Linked DNA regions of Homo sapiens: region 1 is linked to region 2. The links are contacts of gene promoters, found by promoter capture Hi-C in human tissues and cell types (Jung and others, 2019). All regions are on one chromosome and are shown on one strand. The core of a region is centred on a gene start or on the middle of the fragment in contact, and the rest is flanking DNA. Distances in the headings are between cores, read along the strand shown.

Region 1 (3,115 bases), core at 538-3,037, 750 kb before region 2:
GGAGGTCAAGGCTGCAATAAGCTGTGATCACACCACTGTACTCCAGCCTGGGCAACAGAGTGAGACTCTGTCTCAAAAAAAAGAAAAAGAAAATCAAGGAGAAAGATGAGCTAACTGAGAGGTGGAAAAGAGCAGGGGTAGAGGGAGCTGGGCTGGGGGAGGGGAGGAGGAGGAAGGGATGCATCCAGATCACAGCCTTAGACAGGGCCACCATTTCTCACCTCCTCCGAGATGAGAGTAGACAGGGAAGAAATGTGGAAAAGTCTGCAAGTCAAGAAAGAAGGTGGAAGTTAGCAGAGTTCACATTGCCCTGTAAAGTAGGAAGGAAGGCAGGAATGGAGTTAGGTGCTTGAAAAAAAATGATCATTTGGATTAGACACTCTGGGGAATTGGGATACTGACTGAGGATTCACAAGAGAATGGCTTGGCAGCACAGGGCCCAGGTAGGAAGAGAGAAAGGGCACCATTCAAGTGCTCAAGGACTGTGAGCACAAAGGAAAGAGAAAGGCAGGACCCGTGACCCCAGTGAAGAAGGCGAATGAAGGCCAAGAACTGGCGTAGTGCAGGGCTAGTGAACTCTGACAGACTCCAAGGTTGTGGGCCAGATCCAAGTGCTCTGACTACACATTCAAAGCACTCAGATTCCCAGGAATTTCTTTTTTCCTTTTTTTTTTTTTTTGTAGACAGGGTCTGACTCTGTTGCCTAGGCTGAAGTGCAGTGGCATGACCTCGGCTCACTGCAGCCTGCCTCTGCTTTCTGGGTTCAAGTGATTCTCATGCCTCAGCCACTACAGTAGCTGGGATTATGGGCATGTGCCACCACACCCGGCTAATTTTTGTATTTTTAGTAGAAACAGCGTTTTGCCATGTTGGCCAGGCTGGTCTTGAACTCCTGGCCTCAAGTGATCCACCTGCCTCGGCCTCTTAAAGTGCTGGGATTACAGGCGTGAGCCACCGTACCCGGCCAGATTCCCAGGAATTTCTGATGGTGCAAAATAGTTACCTGTCAAAGGCTTCCACCATTGTACAGCGAGGCTGCAAGGACTTGGTTCTGATGTCATTGGTAATGTTTTTCCTCTCCTTAAAGTAGCGGCATGAGCCCTGGATGCCATCCTTATTCTCTAAGATCATATGAATGGGGTAGACATCCTCCAAAGCCACCGGGTCCCTCCTAGACTCCAAAATTCCAGTTTCCAAATCAATTTCTTCATACCTAAGGAGAAAAACACAAATATCAAAGCCCAACTCAGCTTCAGATATAATGTGTGCTTGGCTGTGTTCTTTTGACAACCTCCAGCAGAGATCAGAGAGAAGTGAGATCAGTCAGTTTTCCTGCCTTATAAATGCAGATAATCTTGACAAGCAGGTTCCTGCCTTTCTATCCCACAGAACGCAGACCTTTCCAGGACTCCCCAGACTATTCCAGAAGCTGGGTGCTGGGACCTAAACCTCCTTATTGGCCAAGTCATGGGCTTTTGTTTCCCTCCAAATCTGGTACTCAGTCTCCAAACCACCAAGTTGGACGAAATGATTCAAGGCTTTCCTCCGCTTTTTTGAGATGGAGTTTTGCTCTTGTTGCCCAGGCTAGAGTCCAATGGCATGATCTTGGCTCACTGCAACCTCCACTTCCCAGGTTCAAGCAATTCTCCTGCCTGAGCCTCCCAAGGAGCTGGGATTATAGGGGTGTGCCACCACGCCCGGCTAATTTTGTATTTTTAGTAGAGATGACGGTTCACCATGTTGGTCAGGGTGGTCTCGAACTCCTGACCTCGGTGATCCACCCGCCTCAGCTTCCCAAAGTGCTGAGATTACAGGTGGGAGCCACCACAAGTGGCCAAAGCTTTCCTCCCTTTAAGATCTCATCTTTCCATCTCTCCTTAGTTATCTCTCTAATATCCTAACCCATTTTCATGGTTTGCATTACCGCCTGCATGTTAACAAGTCTCACCTTTGAATCCTCAGTCCTTTTTCTCCAAATACAGATCCAATGTCTTCACTTGTCTATTAAATGCCTCCCATTCCAAATATGATTACCTCTCCCCAGCTCCAATTAAGTCCCTTCTTTCCCCTCTTACTACCGCTTTCTTCCATGTGCCTCTTACAACACCATGGAGACATTTTTCATTTGTGCTTCTTTCATGCAGTTAGCCAAGCTTGTCAAGTTTTTTTTTTTTTGAAAAAAAAAAAAAATACATACATATATATATATATAATTTTTTTTCCCCTCACTATGTTGCCCAGATTGGTCTTGAACTACCGGGCTCAAGTAATCTGCCCACTTCAGCCTTGCAAAGTGCTAGGATTACAGGTGTGAGCCACCTTGCCTGGCTGCTTGTCGAGTTTTATTTTGAAATCTCACTCATATCCTACACTAGTCTAATTGCGGCTAAATCCTATGTACATGTTTCAGCCCTTTCCTTCCTTGCCCCCTCTGTGTTATCTGCACCATTTAACCCTCCATTCCTTTTTTTTAAGACTTGAGTTTTGATCTTGTCACCCAGGCTGGAGTGCAGTGGCGCAATCTCGGCTCACTGCAACCTCTACCTTCTGGGTTCAAGCGATTCTCCTGCCTCAGCCTCCCTAGTAGCTGGGATCACAGGCACCTGCCACCACACCCAGCTAATTTTTGTATTTTTAGTAGAGAGAGGGTTTCACGATGTTGGCCAAATGATCCACCTGCCTCGGCCTCCCAAAGTGCTGGGATTACAGGCATGATTCACCACACCCAGCCCAACCCTCCGTTCTTAAATGATCCTGTCTCCTCCCAAACTTCCAGAACACCACTCTGACCTGACTGTCCTCTACCTCTCCAGCCACACCGCCTCAGTCTTCTTTTGAAAGTCCCTCACCCTCCATCCAGCCTTGAAATGTAGGTGCACTGCAGAGCTATATCTCAAGACCTCCAACCACACTACACTCTCTCTTAGGGCTGATCTTAGCCAGCTGCTTTAATTACCAGCTGCTAGGAATGACTCACAGATGTCTAGCTCAGTCCCTCCCTCTGGCCTGCTTTCACTCCCACGAAGCCAGATGTTTACTAATTAAGACTCTTCACTTGGACAACTCAAAAGAACCTGAAGCTAAATGTGTCACATGTCTCTTCAGCAAAGTCCCC
Region 2 (3,430 bases), core at 881-3,380:
GAGGCTGAGGTGGGTGGATCACTTGAAGTCAGGAGTTTGAGACCAGCCTGGCCAACATGATGAAACCCCGTCTGTAGTAAAAATACAAAAATTAGCCAGGCATAGTGGCACACGCCTGTAATCCCAGCTACTCAGGAGGCTGAGCCAGGAGAATCACTTGAACCCCGCAGGCAGAGGTTGCGGTGAGGCAAGATCGTGCCATTGCACTCCAGGCTGGGCAGCAGAGCAAGACTCTGTCAAAAAAAGAAGGAAGGTAGGAAGGCAGGAAGGAAGGAAAGAAGAAAGGAAGGAAGGAAGGGCGGGGAGAGAAAAAGAAAGAAAGGAGAAGAGAAGAGAAGAAAAGAAAAGAGAAAAAAGACAATCTAGACAGAGGCAGGAGGCCGACAAGTTAAGAACTGAAACAATATTCTCAATGGTAGAGGTTGCCAACCTATGGTCTGGGGGCCAGATTTGTCTGCAAAGTGTGTTTCATTTGGCCCATTCAATATTTCCGAATTTTGGGAATTCGTTTCAAACATTTAAAAGTTGGAAGATTTCTGGATGTCCTGCTTCTCTTTGAATATCATCCAGCCACGCACAGCCCACGATGTCTCCAGTTCCCCTCTTCTCCACCCTCTCTATCACTTTACATGCGACCCCAGTCGCTCATGTCTGCGCCTGTAGGTACTTGCGTTTGCAATCCCTGGCTCCTAAAGCTCTGGAAACAGTCGGGAGTGGCTGGGAGGATTACGCTGGGTTGAGAAAACAGCCTGATCAAAAACTTAGAAGAAATAGGGGCAGTCATAAAAAATGATGAGTTCATGTCCTTTGTAGGGACATGGATGAAGCTGGAAACCATCATTCTCAGCAAACTATCGCAAGGACAAAAAACCAAACACCGCATGTTCTCACTCATAGGTGGGAATTGAACAAAGAGAACACATGGACACAGGAAGGGGAACATCACACACCAGGGACTGTTGTGGGGTGGGGGGAAGGGGGAGGGATAGCATTAGGAGATATACCTAATGCTAAATGACGAGTTAATGGGTGCAGCACACCAACATGGCACACGTATACATACGTAACAAACCTGCATGTTGTGCATATGTACCCTAAAACTTAAAGTATAATAATAATTAAAAAAAAGAATGAAAAAGAAATGCTTTTGAAGCTTGAAGCTAAAAAAACAAAAAAAAAAGAAAGAAATAGGGAAGGCGTCCTATTGGGGCTTTCTCACTAGGGAAAGAGTGAGCTGCAGGGAGGAGAAAGAACAGGGCCTGGAAGGACGAGCTGTCCCTATCTCATCTCTGTCCCCATCCACCCACTTCATCCAGGCCACCAATTTCCGGTTATCAAACAGACAATGCAACATCCCTTACACCTGCTGTACCTCTGCCTAGAATCTCCTTTCTTCCCTTCTATCCGGCGAGCAGTTCCTCCCAGCTGCACTCCTGGACTAGTCACTGCCTATTTGCAGCAGGGATCGCAAAGGCGACCTCAGTTGGATAGGGCAACCACCCAGGCCCAAGTTTATGACCTCTTCCCCAAGAAGACTGTGAGTTCTCTGACGTCTCGCTGGAAATAGGATGCATGGATGGATGGATGGATGGATGGACGGACGGATGGATGGATGGATGGAAGCGCAGGCAGGCAGGCGGACGCATGGATGAATGAAATGCATATCCGAATGCAGAACCTGGATTTGTTTTCCCTCCTTCAAACACACACAGGCTCCGCCCCACTAGCACAGACCGGGACAGTCTGGGGCAGTCTCGTCCCGCAGGGCCCAGAAAGCTGGACCAGGTGACCCTCTCAGACTCCCCCGAGTCCTCTGTAACCTCGTTCTCGCCCCCTCGTGGGCTCTGACCTAGAAAAGGAGTGGGGTGGGTGGGGGGTGGGGGGTGGGAGCCAGCTCGGGAGCCACCGGCGCTAGGACCCAGCGCGGCCGGAAGGGGGTGGGGGCGCCGCGCGGGGAGAATCTGCGCTCCGCGGCGCGCGGCGGGAGGGCGGGCGCGCGGCGGGTGAGCGCGCTTGCGCGAGGGCGCGCGCCGAGCGGGACGGACAAAGGGGCGGGCGGCGGCGCGCGAGCCGGAGGGCGGAGCCGCGGGCCGGGCGGGCAGGTGCGCGCTGGCTGGAGGGCGGAGCCGCGATGCCGCGATGGAGCGCAGCCCGGGCGGGCGCCGGGGCCGGGGCCCGAGCGCCAGGCGGAGCGCGAGCTGGAGCCGCAGCCGGAGCCCGGGCCAGGCCGGGGGCCGGGAGCGCAGGGCCGGGCTGCTCGTAGCGGCGGCGACCGAGCCCCCCAGCGGCTGAGGGGCTTCCAGCGCCCGCCGGTGGCCGGGACCCACTAAAGCCCCCGCAGCCGAGGAGTGCGGGGAGCCCCCTTCCACATCCAGGATCCGGCGAGCCTCGGGGAAGAGGGGGGGCCCTCCCGGATCCGACACCGAGCGACTCCCCTGCGGGGAAAGCGGAGACTTCCTCGGTATTTAGAAGACAGCAAGCCCCCTACGGCACCGCAAGGACTCCCCCTCCTCAGTCTGGGCCCCCGCCCCAAGACCTAGAACGCAGTGCCCCCAGGCCGGGATTGCGAGAACCCCCTCCCAAGATCCGGTCATTACAACTCCACACCTCAAGACAAGAAGACCCAGCTCAGAACGCCCCTAGATCAGGGGATCCCAATTCCCCCCAACTCCGGTACATAGAAATCCCAAATCTAGGCAGCCGGGGACAGCAAGAGACACTCTCACCAGCAAGAAGCCTCGGGGATCCCCCCCCTAAAGCTCCAGGACTTGGGCGACTGAGCCCCTGGCGGCACCGCTTGCACCCCGGTCCATGGTCGTGGCGCCCTGAGCCCCCGGGGCCGGGCAGACGAAGACCGCGACGGCGCCCAGGCCCCCTGCCGCGGCGTCCCCGCGGCCCCAGCCCAGGTAAGCCGGGCCCAGGTGAGGGGCGGCAGGTGAGTGGCCACCGAGGTCCCCATAGCCCTGCAGGTGGGGAAGGAAGTATCGGGTTGCGCGCTCCCCCTTCCCCAGCGTCGCCATGGAGCCGAGGCTGAAGGACGTCTCTTTGTGTCTCGCTTGGAGGAGCCGCCCCCTCCTCCTCTCCCTTCCCCCACCCCACTCCCTAGCCTTGAGGCTCGGGCGCAGCTCCCCGGCCCCACGGAGGAGTGGTGGTGGAGCCCGTTGTGCCATGGAGAGGGGGGAAGAGGGCGGAGAGTCCCCCCCCAAAAGCTGCGAGCCTGGAGGTTGGCCCCCAGGTCCTTGGAGTGTGAATACCCCTCCCCCACGGCCAAGCTGAGCTTCTAGTGAAGTCCCCCCGAGAGGGGAAAATTTGGGGGTGCCCACAGGTGAGGGGGGCTGCCTTATGTGGCCCTGGGTGATGGCTGGGGCTTCGGGTGTGTGTCTTTGTCTGTGAGAGTGCGGGGAAGGGGTGTGTTTGAGCGGATGAATGG

What was found. Contacts are between HindIII fragments. The study calls those that stand out against the background at their distance.
Region 1: a contact is called between a fragment that was not itself captured here and the fragment with the promoter of SBK1 in region 2, in 1 of the 25 tissues and cell types used here (dorsolateral prefrontal cortex).

What each region holds. Positions count from the first base shown.
Region 1 is chr16:27,544,311-27,547,425 of GRCh38, forward strand. It overlaps GTF3C1 (general transcription factor IIIC subunit 1), which reads right to left. Exons shown (of 37, transcript NM_001520.4): 2 at 1,004-1,213. Among named protein-coding and RNA genes, the nearest start is that of GTF3C1, 4.0 kb to the right of the region's middle. The HindIII fragment of the contact is 4,315 bases long and covers 1-3,115 here.
Region 2 is chr16:28,290,395-28,293,824 of GRCh38, forward strand. SBK1 (SH3 domain binding kinase 1) reads left to right here and starts at 2,131. Exons shown (of 4, transcript NM_001024401.3): 1 at 2,131-2,906. It overlaps LOC124903670 (a long non-coding RNA gene), which reads right to left and starts at 1,671. Exons shown (of 2, transcript XR_007065033.1): 1 at 1,373-1,671. RefSeq lists silencers at 1,623-1,794, 2,002-2,231. The HindIII fragment of the contact is 7,957 bases long and covers 1-3,430 here.